Linked DNA regions of Homo sapiens: region 2 is linked to region 1. The links are contacts of gene promoters, found by promoter capture Hi-C in blood cells and fetal thymus (Javierre and others, 2016). All regions are on one chromosome and are shown on one strand. The core of a region is centred on a gene start or on the middle of the fragment in contact, and the rest is flanking DNA. Distances in the headings are between cores, read along the strand shown.

Region 1 (3,673 bases), core at 763-3,262:
TACGACTTAGGCCAAGAAGTTCAAATTTCCACTGGCCAACCCAAGGTGGCTGGTTGCTTTAACAGGAAAATAACAATATAAAAAAAGCAAGACACTAATATTCCCCTATAACTGGGCCCATACATGATAGATAGAGTTAATTCATCAGTGACTATTACCTACTGAACTTAGCTTTGGAATTTCATGATTCAGCTGCTTCTTATCTAGCTGTGTCATCTCAGGCAAGTTGCCTAATCTTTCTGATTCACATGTTCTTCATCAGTAATATGCAGAATACAGGGTGGTTATTATGATTAGAAATAATATATATAGGTGGTCTAATAGAATGTGATGCAATATGGTTGGTGTTGGCTCCAAAATTTATATGTAGAAAAGATTTATGAACAGCAATACTGTTGAAGAGGCAGTAAGGTACCTGCATTGAAGTATTTAATTATATAGCAAAGACATGCTCTGACTTGGACTGTTTATCATGGGTGGTAGTGAGGCCAATGGACATCATGGAAGACTACAAAAGACAATGCTCTGTCCCAGGCCACCATATGATAGATGTTAATGAATTACAACTATTATTGTTACCTTGAAAACTACACTATTTACAAGTACCTCACTGGGATAAGCCAAATTCATATTTTGCTATCTTGTCTATGTCCCTAATTCTTGATTGAAAAATTGTATTTATTCTCCCTTAAAGTCTATGGTCTCCAGGTCAGTTTATCTAGGGGTATTTTTTAAATTGGTGATTAAATATAATTTTATGGAATAATTAAGCCCCTAGTTTTTCACAGCCCCATCATGGCCACTAATAAACTGAAAAAAAATTATACAAAAATAGCCCCAGGATAATAACATGGAATCTACAGCATCTATTCCAAATATATAACAAAGAATGAAAGAAAACCCAGAATGATATCTTGTACAGTCTAGCAAACCTGCATAGAAATCTTCAAACTAAGAATCTGGAAAAAAAATTAAAGTGTAGGCAATCTTTTCTTATTTTAACAGAAGAAAATCCATATTTATCAGTTCAATATCCAAAATCCCTAGAAGGCTGAAAAGTACAAACTGAGCATGTGTGTCTCTCACACACCCACACATCACTGGCTGACTAATTTAGTAGTTAAGAGAGAAGAGTAAAAATGCATAGGGAAAGGAGCACATTTTAATGTCTTGGATTTTCCCCTCTTGGAAAAAACTGAAGTCATGCATTTCTCCAACGTTTCTACCTAGTAGTGAAAGTTGGAACTCCAGCGCAATGGGGATGGCCAAGGGTAAACGCCAATATATACTCAGTAATATTTGTTGTTACGGGAAAAAAGAGCGGGAGATACTTGGACCTAAAACCGAAACTCTCCCAGTACCAATCAAGATTCACAGTCCTTTTTCCTCATTAACCTCTGGAAACCACCAAATTAAGGATTCCTGCTCGCCGCTCTATTCCGTTCTTACAAACTGTGCCCTCGGGGTAGTGCAAAAAAGAACGTGCTCTAATTCCAGGGTAATTCCAAGAGATAACTCGCCTTTTGCCATCCCGGTTCTTTTACTGAAACTAAACCAAAAGCCAGCATTATTATCGACCACACCGTGTACCAGGCTCAAAATCGCCAGGAACATGGGGCCGGAAACCTTCCTCCGCCGCGCCAGAGACCACGGTGCCATAACAGACACAGTGAGCGCCCCTCATCTTTAAGAGGCAGGGAAGGAGAGTTACCCTGCACCCCCACGGGCCGCCGGTTCGGTAGGTACAGCCGGGACTACGTCTCCCAGCATGCAGCGCGGCTACGACCCGCGCCGCGGAACCACTGGAACGGTGCATGCCGGGACGAGTAGATTCAGTCTCTGAACGGCCCGGAGTAGTCTTTCCCCTCCTGAATGCCGCCACTCCGCAGTCCAGAGTATTTGAAGATCAAGCTGAAATTGAGAGACTGACGAGAGTGGTCCCTTTTTGTTCCTAACAGATTTCTTGCGACAAGGAAACCGGCAGTCTTCCGCTTCCGGTTGCTCTGTTGCCATAGTAACCGCACCCATAACAGCCGTGGTGGTTATGGCTGGCCTGAGCGGCGCGCAGATCCCCGACGGGGAGTTCACCGCGGTCGTGTACCGCCTCATCCGCAATGCACGCTACGCCGAGGCGGTGCAGCTGCTGGGCGGAGAACTGCAGCGGAGCCCTAGGAGCCGCGCCGGCCTGTCGCTGCTAGGCTACTGCTACTACCGCCTGCAGGAGTTCGCGCTGGCGGCCGAGTGCTATGAGCAGCTGGGCCAGCTGCACCCGGAACTGGAGCAGTACCGCCTGTACCAGGCCCAGGCCCTGTACAAGGCCTGCCTTTATGCGGAGGCCACCCGGGTCGCCTTCCTTCTCCTGGATAACCCCGCCTACCACAGCCGGGTCCTCCGCCTGCAAGCTGCTATCAAGTACAGCGAGGGCGATCTGCCAGGGTCCAGGAGCCTGGTAGAGCAGCTGCCGAGTAGGGAAGGGGGAGAGGAAAGTGGGGGCGAGAATGAGACCGATGGCCAGATCAACCTGGGTTGTTTGCTCTACAAGGAGGGACAGTATGAAGCTGCATGCTCCAAGTTTTTTGCCGCCCTGCAGGCCTCGGGCTACCAGCCTGACCTTTCCTACAACCTGGCTTTGGCCTATTACAGCAGCCGACAGTATGCTTCAGCACTGAAGCATATCGCTGAGATTATTGAGCGTGGCATCCGCCAGCACCCTGAGCTAGGTGTGGGCATGACCACTGAGGGCATTGATGTTCGCAGTGTTGGCAACACCTTAGTCCTCCATCAGACTGCTCTGGTGGAAGCCTTCAACCTTAAGGCAGCTATAGAATACCAACTGAGAAACTATGAGGCAGCTCAAGAAGCCCTCACTGACATGCCACCCAGGGCAGAGGAAGAGTTGGACCCTGTGACCCTACACAACCAGGCACTAATGAACATGGATGCCAGGCCTACAGAAGGGTTTGAAAAGCTACAGTTTTTGCTCCAACAGAATCCCTTTCCTCCAGAGACTTTTGGCAACCTGTTGCTGCTCTACTGTAAATATGAGTATTTTGACCTGGCAGCAGATGTCCTGGCAGAAAATGCCCATTTGATTTATAAGTTCCTCACACCCTATCTCTATGACTTCTTGGACGCTGTGATCACTTGCCAGACAGCTCCTGAAGAGGCTTTCATTAAGCTTGATGGGCTAGCAGGGATGCTGACTGAGGTCCTCCGGAAACTTACCATACAAGTACAGGAAGCAAGACACAATAGAGATGATGAAGCTATCAAAAAGGCAGTGAATGAATATGATGAAACCATGGAGAAATACATTCCTGTGTTGATGGCTCAGGCAAAAATCTACTGGAATCTTGAAAATTATCCAATGGTGGAAAAGATCTTCCGCAAATCTGTGGAATTCTGTAACGACCATGATGTGTGGAAGTTGAATGTGGCTCATGTTCTGTTCATGCAGGAAAACAAATACAAAGAAGCCATTGGTTTCTATGAACCCATAGTCAAGAAGCATTATGATAACATCCTGAATGTCAGTGCTATTGTACTGGCTAATCTCTGTGTTTCCTATATTATGACAAGTCAAAATGAAGAAGCAGAGGAGTTGATGAGGAAGATTGAAAAGGAGGAAGAGCAGCTCTCTTATGATGACCCAGATAAGAAAATGTACCATCTC
Region 2 (3,673 bases), core at 420-2,919, 390 kb after region 1:
AAGTTCTGGCCAAAGGTTTCCAAGTGGAAGAGAGCTTCTGGGAGCCTTCCTTGACGTGCAGCACACCCTTTGCCTCTCCATGCCTTCCTGCTTCCTGCTGCTTAAAGCTTGAGTGCTGTAACCATGAAGCATGAGCATGCCAAGCACAGCTGAACAGCAAGACAGAGGACCTTGGGTCCCTCAAACCATGAATCACTGTATCAGTCCTAGCCCCACCACTCAGACTTTTGTGTGAGAAAGAAATTTAACCCGTGACTCAAAACAACAAGTTTATTCTATTTTTTTTTTTGAGATGGAGTCTCACTCTGCTGCCCAGGCTGGAGTGCAGTAGTGTGATCTCAGCTCACTGCAACCTCCTCCAAGTGATTCTCCTGCCTCAGCCTCCTGAGTAGCTGGGATTACAGGCACGCGCCACCACACCTGGCTAATTTTTGTATATTTAGTAGAGATGGGGTTTCATCATGTTGGTTAGGCCGGTCTCGAACTCCTGACCTTGTGATCTGCCTGCCTTGGACTCCCAAAGTGCTGGGATTACAGGCGTGAGCCACCATGCCCAGCGCAAGTTTATTCTTGATCACACCACATGTCCATTGCTGGTCAGCAGGGGGACTCTGCTCATTGTGGGTACTCAGAAAGCCAGGCTGACAGTGTCCATGTCAACCAATGCTTCCACCATTGCTGACAAAGACAAAAGGAATGTAGTGAATTGTATACTGATAAGGCTTGGAACTGAAAATAACACATGCCATTTTGCTGACTAATGCAAGTCACATACCATATCTAACTTCAAAAAGGTAGGCAAGTAGTCTATTTGCCCTAAAAGCAGGAGAACCAGAATGTGTGGATAATCCCAATAATGACTATAATTTCTATCTTACCTAAGCCACTGTTATTTTGGGTTTTCAGCCAATTGCATCTGCACTGAATCCTAATTAAGAGAGGAATGATCACATCAATGCTGTGATAACTATGTCCTGTGAGGAAGGCTGTCACTGGGTGTACACCTTATACTCGGAAGGATTTGCAGGGGTCACTCCCTGTGGCTTTTCTGAGAAAGAAGAAGCCACATCTTTCTTAAGATCCTCAGTCATCCTTCAGTCATTGACATCTACTACACTGCAGGCAAATCACTAAGAATTCCTATTCCTAAAGTTCAGGCTACCACCTCTAGCTCCTTCTAAGTCTACGAAATATTCCCTATTCTTTTGAAAACACAACTCTAGTCTTTTTCTATTCTGCTTTGTTCCGGCATTCAAATCTTAGTCCTTGAGATCTGTCATCTTTCCCAGAGGCTCTAAATATGTCCTTACCTCCTTCAATTTGGCAAATATCTTCACTCGACCCTATGACATTTTCCAAATCTATAGACAAATGAGTCGTTCTATACCTATTGTCTTTTTGTTTTCCTTTTCTGAAACCCCTGTGATGAGGCTTCTGTTTGTACCATTCTACTTAAACTGTCTAAAAAGCCATTAATGGCTTTTATCAAGAAGCGTTTGTCTAAAACTCTGGAATTTCCTGGAAACATGCTTTCGTATATTTCATATAGTGGGATGGATAACAGCAGATAAAAACAGTCATAGGTTTAGTAAAACATAGTAGAGCCCTTTCTGCATTTGGGTAGTATGGGAATGCCTTCTGATCTGCTACAGGTAAAATCATATGTCTGTCTGCTCCTGCCCTAAAACACAGGAGCCATCTGCAGTACAAGGCTGACATATTTATTTATTTTGCAACACACACATTCGATCTTTTTTTTTTTTTTTTTTTTTTTTGAGACGGAGTCTCGCTCTGTGGCCCAGGCTGGAGTGCAGTGGCGCCATCTCGGCTCACTGCAAGCTCCGCCTCCCGGGTTCACGCCGTTCTCCTGCCTCAGCCTCCGGAGTAGCTGGGACTACAGGCGCCCGCCACCACGCCGGGCTAATTTTTTTGTATTTTTAGTAGAGACGGGGTTTCACTGTGTTAGCCAGGATGGTCTCGATCTCCTGACCTCGTGATCCGCCCGCCTGTGCCTCCCAAAGTGCTGGGATTACAGGCATGAGCCACTGCGCCCGGCCACATTCGATCTTTAATCCAGTGTTTTAGTGGGTGTAGGTGTGACTTAGAAGCAGGCACAGTTCATTAAAAAACAAAAAACACCAAAACCTTTTACAGGTTATTCTCACAGATAAAAATTCTATAGGCTACCAACAGAGGAAGTCTTTATTGTTCCTGGGCGCTAGACCATACACAGAAGGACCATACTTGCTCTTTGCAGTCTCATTCAGAAGCAGGAAAAAGGGGCTGTATTGGATTTGAATATGAAGGACAAAAGAAGCTCTGGAAACACCAAGTAATAGTCTATGTTACAGGTTTAACACACCCATTTAATCTCATTGGAAAAAATAATGAAACTGGTGAAAAGCATTTATGGAACTGGAGGAGAGCATATTTTGCTGGTTTTACTTTTATGTTTGAAGTTTTGGGTATAGCTATGCCCATAAATACTGAAATGCCTAGCATAAAGAACGCAGCCTGGGGCATACCCCATAAAACGTACAGTGCAATTAAATGAGCAATTTCCACTGGAAATAAAACGGGCATGTTGAGTGGAATATGAATTAAACTGCATATGACTCAGGCCTGCACTAGGCTTTAGAGAGAGATCTGCTGGTTTCAGTAGCACCTGATGCCGTCCATCTAAAGGTCAAGGCCAGTAAGTAACAAAAGAAAACTGTAGTTAGCATGAAGATTAGGGCATACCAAATTGTGGTTAATGTAGTTTCCCTGTCATGATGTCTCCTGAAAGGGACCAGCAAAATTACGACTGATAACAAAGGATTAAACCTGACCTTTCTTTACAATGCAGACACATTGAGCTTCTGCGTCATTTGCTATGCAGCATTTTTGACTTCCTCAAACTTCATTTTCACTTTCTGAATGTTCTCTCCCAGACCAAAGTCACCCAGGTGCCATAATAAAAGAATTTCTAAGGGAGATTTCAACTAGAAAACCAAAAGGCCATCAAAACAAACATTGATTTGCATTCCAGATCACTTTCTGCTCTTGTTCATTTCTGGGATCTTATTTGGAGATTAAAGGGTAATGATTCACTGATATCCTGTGGGAAAACCAGTTCAGGAGCAGCCTTTGACAAACCACATGTAGAAATCTGGCTGATACAGGGAGAAAACAAGTTTCAATCTTATTTTTAGTGTAGGGTAAAGGAAGTCCACCCAAGATAAAGCTTAGCATTCTTTCTTTGAGGAATTAGGGTAAGGGTGAAGAAAAGAAAGCTTGATATTTTTCTGCCTATGAAAGCCAGAAGAAGGCTCAGAGAAGCCCGTTCCTTCTTTTCCTCTTTTTCCAAGTGCCAGACCTCCGCAGCTCCCAGAGGAAATGAGGGCATGGGGTGGGTAATAGGGCATGTGATTTGAATGAGTATTCCCAGCCATTTAATATATTCACAAGTCAAACTATAAAGTATTTCTTTAAAAAAATTATAGTATTTCACTGAAGTTTGAATGTACTTTCTCTTGCCAAAATAATCAGAGTCTTTCATTTTTCTAATGATAAAAATGTGCTACATGTGTAGGAAAATTTCCCAAATGAAAAATAACATTTTCTATGGCAGCACATACAGTGCTTGAATTTTTCACCTTAGATTTTATTCTAGCCAGACCTAAACTCTGTC

What was found. Contacts are between HindIII fragments. The CHiCAGO score rates a contact against its expected background, and 5 or more counts as called.
Region 2: a contact is called between a fragment that was not itself captured here and the fragment with the promoter of IFT70B in region 1, in 1 of 17 cell types (total B cells). The highest score is 5.3, in total B cells.

Annotation. Positions count from the first base shown.
Region 1 is chr2:177,551,135-177,554,807 of GRCh38, reverse strand. It overlaps IFT70B (intraflagellar transport 70B), which reads left to right and starts at 2,012. Exons shown (of 1, transcript NM_152517.3): 1 at 2,012-3,673. The coding sequence starts at 2,045. RefSeq lists enhancers at 1,746-2,035, 1,404-2,207, 2,208-3,012. The HindIII fragment of the contact is 6,507 bases long and covers 1-3,180 here.
Region 2 is chr2:177,165,498-177,169,170 of GRCh38, reverse strand. LOC105373760 (a long non-coding RNA gene) reads left to right here and starts at 3,661. Exons shown (of 6, transcript XR_001739795.1): 1 at 3,661-3,673. RefSeq lists enhancers at 556-850, 1,852-2,370. The HindIII fragment of the contact is 3,119 bases long and covers 110-3,228 here.